Regions from separate parts of the Homo sapiens genome. Here all the other regions are linked to region 3. Evidence: promoter capture Hi-C in 16 types of primary human blood cells and fetal thymus (Javierre and others, 2016). All regions are on one chromosome and are shown on one strand. Each heading gives the region's core, a stretch centred on a gene start or on the middle of the fragment in contact. The rest is flanking DNA. Distances are from core to core; before and after follow the strand shown.

Region 1 (2,700 bases), core at 100-2,599, 390 kb after region 3:
ACGGTCAACGAGAGGTTCGACGTAGCCACCAGGTGATCCCCCAGTGCACCCCAACCCTGCTGCTCTCCCAATCTTCCCTTAGTTCCTTGATCCTCTAAAGCTAGGACTTCCCACAAACTCCAGCCTCCTAGGACACCCACAAAGCTATCTCCCTTGCCTCCTAGATCCCTAAACCTGAAATCCCTTGGAATGGTCCCTCTGAAGCAGCTTCCTTGTAATAAGAGCTTTCCATTATAATGAAGTCACTGAGCCAAACTGTAATATCACTCTCATTTCACAGCCTCCCCCGTTACTTCTGGGTCCCTAACCGAATTCTGGACAGTGAGGTCAGGAGAGCATTTGGCCACTTTCATCAGGGCCGTGGACCGGTCAGTGTGATGGTTAGGGTAATGGCTGTGGATTAGAGGGTCATGTGGGCCAGGGACATCGTGGAGGGAGGAACCTCTGTGAGGTCAGTGTGGGGGCAAGGGTAGCGTGGAGCTAGGCATTTCTCCCACAATGACCCTCTTCTGCCCCATGTGAAGCGCTTGTCCTGGCATCACCCTGGGGGCAGTGATCTTCTCCGCTGTGGAGGCTTCTATACAGCCAGTGACCCTAACAAGGAGGATATCAGGTGAGGGAGGCTTGATGAGAAGAATCAAGGGTTAGGTGCTCAGGGTAGACTCCTTATTTCCTGACTCCCTCCCCTCCAGAGCAGTGGAGTTGATGCTCCAGGCTGGGCATTCAGATGTTGTCCTGGTAGACACTATGGATGAGCTGCCCAGCCTTGCAGATGTCCAACTTGCCCACCTGAGGCTGAGGGCCCTCTGCCTGCCTGGTGAGAATAACCTTTGACCCCTAACCCTCACCCTCACCCCTAGGTCTGCTGAGCCTAACCTGGTTTACCCTTTGCTTGCTGTAGATGAGTAGCTCTTTAGTCCAATGAGCCCGTTTTCTTTTCTTTTCTTTTTTCTTGAGACGGAGTCTCGGCTGGGCATGGTGGCTCACGCTTGTAATCCCACCACTATGGGAGGCCGAGGTGGGCAGATCACTTGAGGGCAGGAGTTCAAGACCAACCTGGCCAACATGGTGAAACCCCGTTTCTACTAAAAATACACACACACACAAAATTAGCTGGGTGTGGTGGCCGATGCCTGTAATCCCAGCTACTTGGAAGGCTGAGGCACAAGAATCGCTTGAACCCAGGAGGCGGGTGAACTGAGAATGTGCCATTGCATTCCAGCCTGGGCGACAAGAGTGAAACTTGTCTTAAAAAAAAAAAAAAAGGCAGATGAGACGGAGTCTCCCTCTGTGGCCCAGGCTGGAGTGCAGTGGCGTGATCTCGGCTCACTGCAACCTCCAACTCCCATGTTCAAGCGATTCTCCTGCCTCAGCCTCCTGAGTAGCTGGGATTACAGGCGCCTGCCACCATGCCTGGCTAATTTTTGTATTTTTAGTAGAGACGAGGTTTCACCATGTTCCCCGTGTTAGACTAGGCTGGTCTCAAACTCCTCAGATGATCCACCCACCAAGGCCTCCTAAAGCGCTGGGATTACAGGCACAAGCCGTCGTGCCCGGCCAGTGAGACTGTTTTCTACTCACCTCCCACCTCTCCCACCTCTCCCACAGACTCACTGGTTTCCTGTCTTCTTGACCCCAATTTATTCTTTAAACAGCTTTATTGAGACATAATGTACATACCATAAAATTTACCCTTCACTGAAGTATACAATTCAGTGAGTTTTATTATATTTACAATGTTGTACAACCATCACCACAGTTTAATTTTAGAAACCATCCTGGCCATTTACAATTACTTTTCATTCCTGTTCTTAACCCAGCAGGCTATCAACCTGAATCCTGAATCCTGAGTTCTAATCTCTTGCCCTTCTGATCTTTCTACCCTCTATCAGATTCATCTGTAGCTGAGGATAAATGGCTTTCAGCCCTGGAAGGAACACGATGGCTGGACTATGTCAGGTACTCCCTCGCTTCTTCTAGCCATCATTTATAATTCAACCTTCCTCAACCTTCTGTTAACTTGGGGTCCTAAATGGCCTTTCTTTAGTTCTTCTCCTCGGTTTCCCAAGAAGACTGCCATTTTCTGCTCTTTAGAAGGAGGAGGGGTAGGATTTGGAGTCGGCCTTATTCCATCCCATGACCCATCAAAATCACTCCATTCCCCTAGGCTTATCATTCTTCCTCCCTCTTCCTCACCTGCTCCTCCAGGGCTTGTCTTCGAAAGGCCAGTGACATTTCAGTATTAGTGACATCCAGGGTTCGTTCTGTAATACTTCAAGGTGAGTTCCTTGGTTAAGCCCATTCCATTCCTTGCCTCTTTTCTTTACCCACCTGACCAGATTGCATTCAGGGAGGGAGACCCATAAGGCTTCTTCCTCTCCTGTTCCTGGGAACTACCTGCGAGCTCTACTCTCATCCTTCAGTGCTACCTCTGCCTCCCCATCACAACTTGTGGTCCCTGACACTAGGATGGTCTTAGCCCCTTTGTTCCTTTCCTTCCATCAGCGGATGGAGACTGGGGTTGGGGTGGGAAGGGCAGTGTGGAAGCTGGTTTGAGAATTGTGATTCTGCCCCTTACATGTGAAACTGGGTATTTCTATCCGGGTGGAGTCCAGGAAGTGAATCATTCAAGGTCTTTGTTTTCTCTTCACTTCTATGTGCTTTCTCAATCCTCCTACCCCAAACCTTTCCCCTCTGTGC
Region 2 (2,700 bases), core at 124-2,623, 510 kb before region 3:
AGTAGCTGGATTGCCACCACAGCTGGCTAATTTTTGTATTTTTAGTAAAACAGTGTTTCACCATGTTGGCCAGGCTGGCCTCAAACTCTTGACCTCAAGTGATTCGCCTGCGTCAGCCTCCCAAAGTGCTGAGATTACAGGCCTGAACCACTGCACCCAGCGTGTAATTTAGAGTAGCTTCTAGACCCAGACTGCTGGATTTTGTTTTAATCCATATTCTATGGATTTGAATTCTAGCTTTGATGCTATCTTCTGAAACCTTGGATGATTACATGACTACATTGTGCTTTGATTTCATCATCTCACATTGGCGATAATGTTAATACTGACTTTATAAAGTTGTTATGAAGATTAGATGAATTAATATATGTAAAGATATTTAGAACAGAGCATGACACATATTAACCCTATGTAAGTTTTATTTTTGTTTTAAAGGATAGGGAGAGGGAAAGTAGCATTGGCAGGAGTATCCCAATATGTGGACATGGCTAATGCAAAGACATAGGCAAGAGCAAGATAATAATGAACTGTAGCAATTACATTAAGTTGTGGTTAATGTAGAGCAGGAGTAAGCAAACCACAGCCCTTTATTTGTAAATAAAGTTTTATTGGAACATAGCCATGCCCATATTTTTACATATTATCTATGGCTATTTTCATGCTATAATGCTAGAGTTGACTAGTTGCAACAGACTTTCTGGCCCGCAAAGCTGAAAATATGTACTATCTGGTCCTTTACAGAAAAAGCTTGCCAACTCTTGATGTTGAGAATGTTTGCATATGAAGAACATATGGAACATTTTGACTTCAAATTCTAAAAGTTTTAGAAATACTAAACTTGACCTATCTTTATCCTTCATTATTAGTAGCATTACCAATTTTCTATGTCTGGTTGTATCCAGAGCATGTTATTCTGCTATTACTGTGGAAAGTTCTTTGATAGGGCAGTCTGATTGCTTTTAATCTCTTTATTCCTTGAAACAGGTGTGGCAGTAGCTCTGTGGACCCAGTTTCTGTGAATAGGCTGAGCTTTGTGAGGAACAGATGCAGGTGAGATCCTAAGTGGTGAAAACCAAAGGGATGGCCAAATACCTGCAGAGATCATCACATTTTTACCTGTCTTACTGTAGTCGTTCCTTCAGCAGCTCTCACTTGCATCCCTTACCTCCCACTTAACATCCCTTACCTCCCACTTACTTTTTTTCTGGCAATATTTTCCTAAACTTCTAAAACTTCTCTTGAAAATCCTGTTTAAGGAAGTCGCTATGCTATTTTACCTACTTTCCTCCTACTGCATACCTTTTGGTTACTTTACTTTGGCAAGGGTAAAAATGTGGCGGTCATTTTTGGGTGGGAAAGATGATTATCCTGTTTTCTAAACTCCTAAGAGCATAAACTTAAAAGTACTAAGGCAGCATTGCCCTTTGAGTTTTACGGGTAGATTTTTTTTTTTTTTTTCAAACTCCTGTAACTCTTCTAGGAATGGACTTGGCTCTGTAAAGGATGGGGAACCTCACTTCGTGGTGGTCCACTGCACAGGCTACATCAAGGCCTGGCCCCCAGCAGGTAAGAAAGTGAAATAGTAAATATTTCCCCTTGGTACAGTTGGTTCCTCACAGAGTCCATGAAAGCTAATATTTATTATATACCTGGTATATGAAATGTACTTTTGTGTAAGATGAAAGAAAATAGGAAAAGAAAATGTACAATCCTTCCCTTCCATTATTGAGCTTTTATTCCAGTTGAGGAGATAGATAACTCAGGCTGGAAAATGATTCAGTATTGGCTGTGTCACAGAATGTGGTTTTTATGTGAACAAATTTATACTGAACATATGTATTCTAAGCATTTGTTGCAAAGAAACTTAGACATTGAATGCAGTTAATTTGAGAAAGATTTCTAAAGTAGGAACAAGACTTTGAGAGAAAAGGGGAAAATGCCTTTATTGTAATAACTTATCAAGAGGATATTCTCTGCAAAGACTTTAAATCAAGCTTTGAGCAGATTAGCTTTACCAGAACTTGAGGTCAAACAAGGAATGTGAGAAAGGTGATTGGGTTGCAGGATCAAAGTTTTAAGTTGGCTTGTCAGAGTTTCCAAATCTTAGCAACTTTATTACTTCCCTGCTGCCTGGGTATTATTGGAAAGTAGGGGTTTTGGGGAGACAGAAACTAAGAGAAAAGAGAAGCAAGGTGATGTGTTTTGGAAAAAGGTTAAACTTTGGATGTGGAGAAACCTGGATGTGATTCCTGTCATTGTTACTTATTAGTGGCATCACCTAGGGTAAGTTGCTTGACCTTTATAAAGCTCAGTTTTCTCATCTGTAATTCAGAGTTAGTACATCCTGTATAGGGTTTTTGTGAGGATTAGATTTAATGTAAGGAAAGCATCCAGCCCAGTGCCTGGCATATGGCAGGTAACCCAATAAAAGTAATTAATGTAATTTAAAAAAATTTAACTGAAGTAGTAATGACATTTGAACTACTTAGTCTATATACTATATAAGCCACACAGTTAAAGTATGTGATCTTTCATACCTCTATGTAGCATCAAGGAATACTATTTTTCTGGATAAAAAGAGTATAACTATGCAAAAAACAGGGGAGAAATGCAGTCTTCTTCCCTTTCTGTGTAAAACATTGGTTTTTCTCTTTTCCAAGGGACATGAATAACTATTGATGGTTGGTATAACTTCATTTT
Region 3 (2,700 bases), core at 170-2,669:
AGTGAGCCGAGATCGCACCACTGCACTCCAGCCTGGGCGACAGAGCAAGACTCCGTCCCGGGGAAAAAAAAAAAAGGTGTCTAAATGGGAGTCAATAAATTGACTGACCTCAATTTCCAAGCTCAGCTATTCCCAGCAGTGCCACTTATCAAAGATCTGGGAATCATCTTTCAAGATGTTTTAAGACATCTTTTCTCCAAAAAATCCAGTCTGATTAACTTCTACATTCTTGGTAAGTTTAGCCTCTATACTAGAGTCTATAAGACTTGATGCCAAATAGACTCACTTTTGGTATATCCAAAGGAAGCTAGTAGATTGAAGTGATGAAACTAAGACTGAAAGATTTTCTGCCTCAGTGACAAGTTACGTGAGTAATTCTATGGTGGTTCTATTACCCCACAATGAGTAGACATACAGCGTACCAATTTCTACATATTACACATGTATTGCACAAAAGCGGCATATCCAGATGCCATAGAAAGTGAAAACAAGAGTTCACACAGAAACAGTTGGGACACTGAGCCCCACCATTTACAAGCCCTTGGGCAAGTTAAGTAATTCTTTGGAGCCACAGTTTACCATCTTACAAAATGAGTACTGCCATATTTACATCCTAATTCATTCAATAAATATTTATTGAGTAACTACTAAGTGTCAAGCAATGTACTAGGTGCGGTGGATACATAAAACAGTGAGCAAAACTAACAAGAGTCCTCACCTTAACGGGTCTTATATTCCACTAGAATTGAATGATAGGCTAGAAAGTATAAGCAATTTGAAAGCCCAAAGCAATAAATGAGGTGCCACTGTTACCTCCATAAGATGACGTGCAAACTAAACAGCCAATGGATAAAAAAGTTTCAAACGGTAATTAGCCTTGTCACTAATCAAATGCTCAACAATAACTGCGAGGTGCGGGGGTAGTGGGGGTGCGGAAGGAAAGCGAGGTACAATGATCTCTCCTCTCAATGAGCAGGCAGCAGAATCCAAATCCAGTCTTCAGAAGGAATTCCTTACTCCGTGCTCTTGTTTGCTACAACCTGAGTTTCCCTCTGCAGCCCCCCACTCCCCCGCTAATCTTCATTTTTACTCTCTCCGTCACTCCAACCAGTCTCTTACTCTACCTTGTTCTACCTAAACTCCTCACCCCAGAGCTGGTCTCCCAACCCGGTCTCCTTCCCGCCCCCGCCCTTTTCCTCTCAACAATCTCATTCCAACCTCTTCTCCCACCAAACCAGGTACTCCTTTCACACTCCTTCCCGCTGAACCCTCCCGCTTCGGTCCTCCCCTTGGACTGAGTCCCCGGCCACAGTGGCGCGGACTGGAATTACCCTCTGTGGGCCCGGGGCCACTACTCACCTCACAAACTTCAGCCCCTGAGACGGAGCCCGAACGTTACACCGGAACCGGAAACCTTCTGACCGCCCTACGGCGTGCCGTCGCTACCGCCACCGCCGCCGCCACGCCGCTGTCTCCCAACACGTGACCAAGGAGGGCCGGGCCGCCAATTCGCGCAGCCGTATTTGCCACTTTCTTGGAGGCTGAACGCATGCGTCGCAGAACCGAAAAGTTTCCCTGAGCAATTTCCTTGCTTTCTATTTCCCAGGCTAAACCTATTAGCTAGATTTCTGCCAAGGTTTTTTTTTTAGCTTTTTTTTTGAGACGGAGTCTCGCTCTGTCGCCCAGGTTGGAGTGCAGTGACGCGATCTCGGCTCACTGCGAGCTCCGCCTCCCGGGTTCACGCCATTCTCCTGCCTCAGCCTCCCGAGTAGCTGGGACTACAGGCGCCCGCCACCACGCCCGGCTGATTTTTTGTATTTTTAGTAGAGCCGGGGTTTCACCGTGTTAGCCAGGATGGTCTCGATCTCCTGGCCTCGTGATCCGCCCGCCTCAGCCTTCCAAAGTGCTGGGATTACAGGCGTGAGCCACCGCGCCCGGCCGATTTCTGCCAAGTTAATGTCTTTAACTTCCTGAAGCGGAAATTGGGCTACTTGCTGTTTTCCTCATATGGAGAATAAGTGCGCAAAAGTAAACTTAGGCTAGAATGAAGAGCGAGGCTTCTGCGTTTGTGTTCAAACACAGCCTTTCTGGTAGAAAGTAAACCCTTTCTCCCTAATTTAACAGTGGTGTCAGGCCGGGCGCCGTGGCTCACGCCTGTAATCCCAGCACTTTGGGCTCAATAAATGACAAGTGAGACCTACCAGTATTGTTTTCTCCATTCTATCAATAGGTCTATATATTAACTTCTCTCCAAAATGAGGCTCTAACCTACTGACCCTTTATTTTTTATTTTTATTTTTTATTTTTTGAGACGGAGTCTCGCTCTGTCGTCAGGCTGGAGTGCATTCGGCTCACTGAAACTTCCGCCTCCCGAGTAGATGGGACTACAGGCGCGCGACCACCACGTCCAGCTAACTTTTGTATTTTTAGTAGAGACGGGGTTTCACCATGTTGGCCAGGATGGTCTCCATCTCTTGACCGCGTGATCCGCCCACCTCGGCCTCCCAAAGTGCTGGGATTACAGGGTTGAACCACCGCGCCCGGCCCCTACTGACTCTTTAAATCGATGATTCATAACAACATGTGTGTGGACAAAGATAGTTTGGAAAAAGATTGTCCAGTATTATGACACAATTTCTTATATGAGAAATGGAAAAAATTCCATTATTTTTATATTATAAACTATCCAAACTAAAGTTC

What was found. The method cuts DNA at HindIII sites, captures the fragments that hold promoters and counts their contacts. A CHiCAGO score of 5 or more calls a contact.
Region 1: a contact is called between a fragment that was not itself captured here and the fragment with the promoter of PRPF3 in region 3, in 1 of 17 cell types (neutrophils). The highest score is 5.1, in neutrophils.
Region 2: a fragment that was not itself captured here is called in contact with the fragment with the promoter of PRPF3 in region 3 in 1 of 17 cell types (monocytes); the score reaches 5.6 in monocytes.

The regions. Positions count from the first base shown.
Region 1 is chr1:149,931,523-149,934,222 of GRCh38, reverse strand. MTMR11 (myotubularin related protein 11) reads left to right here. Exons shown (of 17, transcript NM_001145862.2): 7 at 1-32; 8 at 281-368; 9 at 525-613; 10 at 693-817; 11 at 1,893-1,959; 12 at 2,209-2,279. Among named protein-coding and RNA genes, the nearest start is that of MTMR11, 4.0 kb to the left of the region's middle. The HindIII fragment of the contact is 5,928 bases long and covers 1-2,700 here.
Region 2 is chr1:150,830,684-150,833,383 of GRCh38, reverse strand. ARNT (aryl hydrocarbon receptor nuclear translocator) reads left to right here. Exons shown (of 22, transcript NM_001668.4): 9 at 985-1,050; 10 at 1,481-1,566. Among named protein-coding and RNA genes, the nearest start is that of CTSK, 24 kb to the right of the region's middle. The HindIII fragment of the contact is 1,247 bases long and covers 750-1,996 here.
Region 3 is chr1:150,320,252-150,322,951 of GRCh38, reverse strand. It overlaps PRPF3 (pre-mRNA processing factor 3), which reads right to left and starts at 1,419. Exons shown (of 16, transcript NM_004698.4): 1 at 1,360-1,419. RefSeq lists enhancers at 1,321-1,370, 1,561-1,610, 1,740-2,305. The HindIII fragment of the contact is 20,070 bases long and covers 1-2,700 here.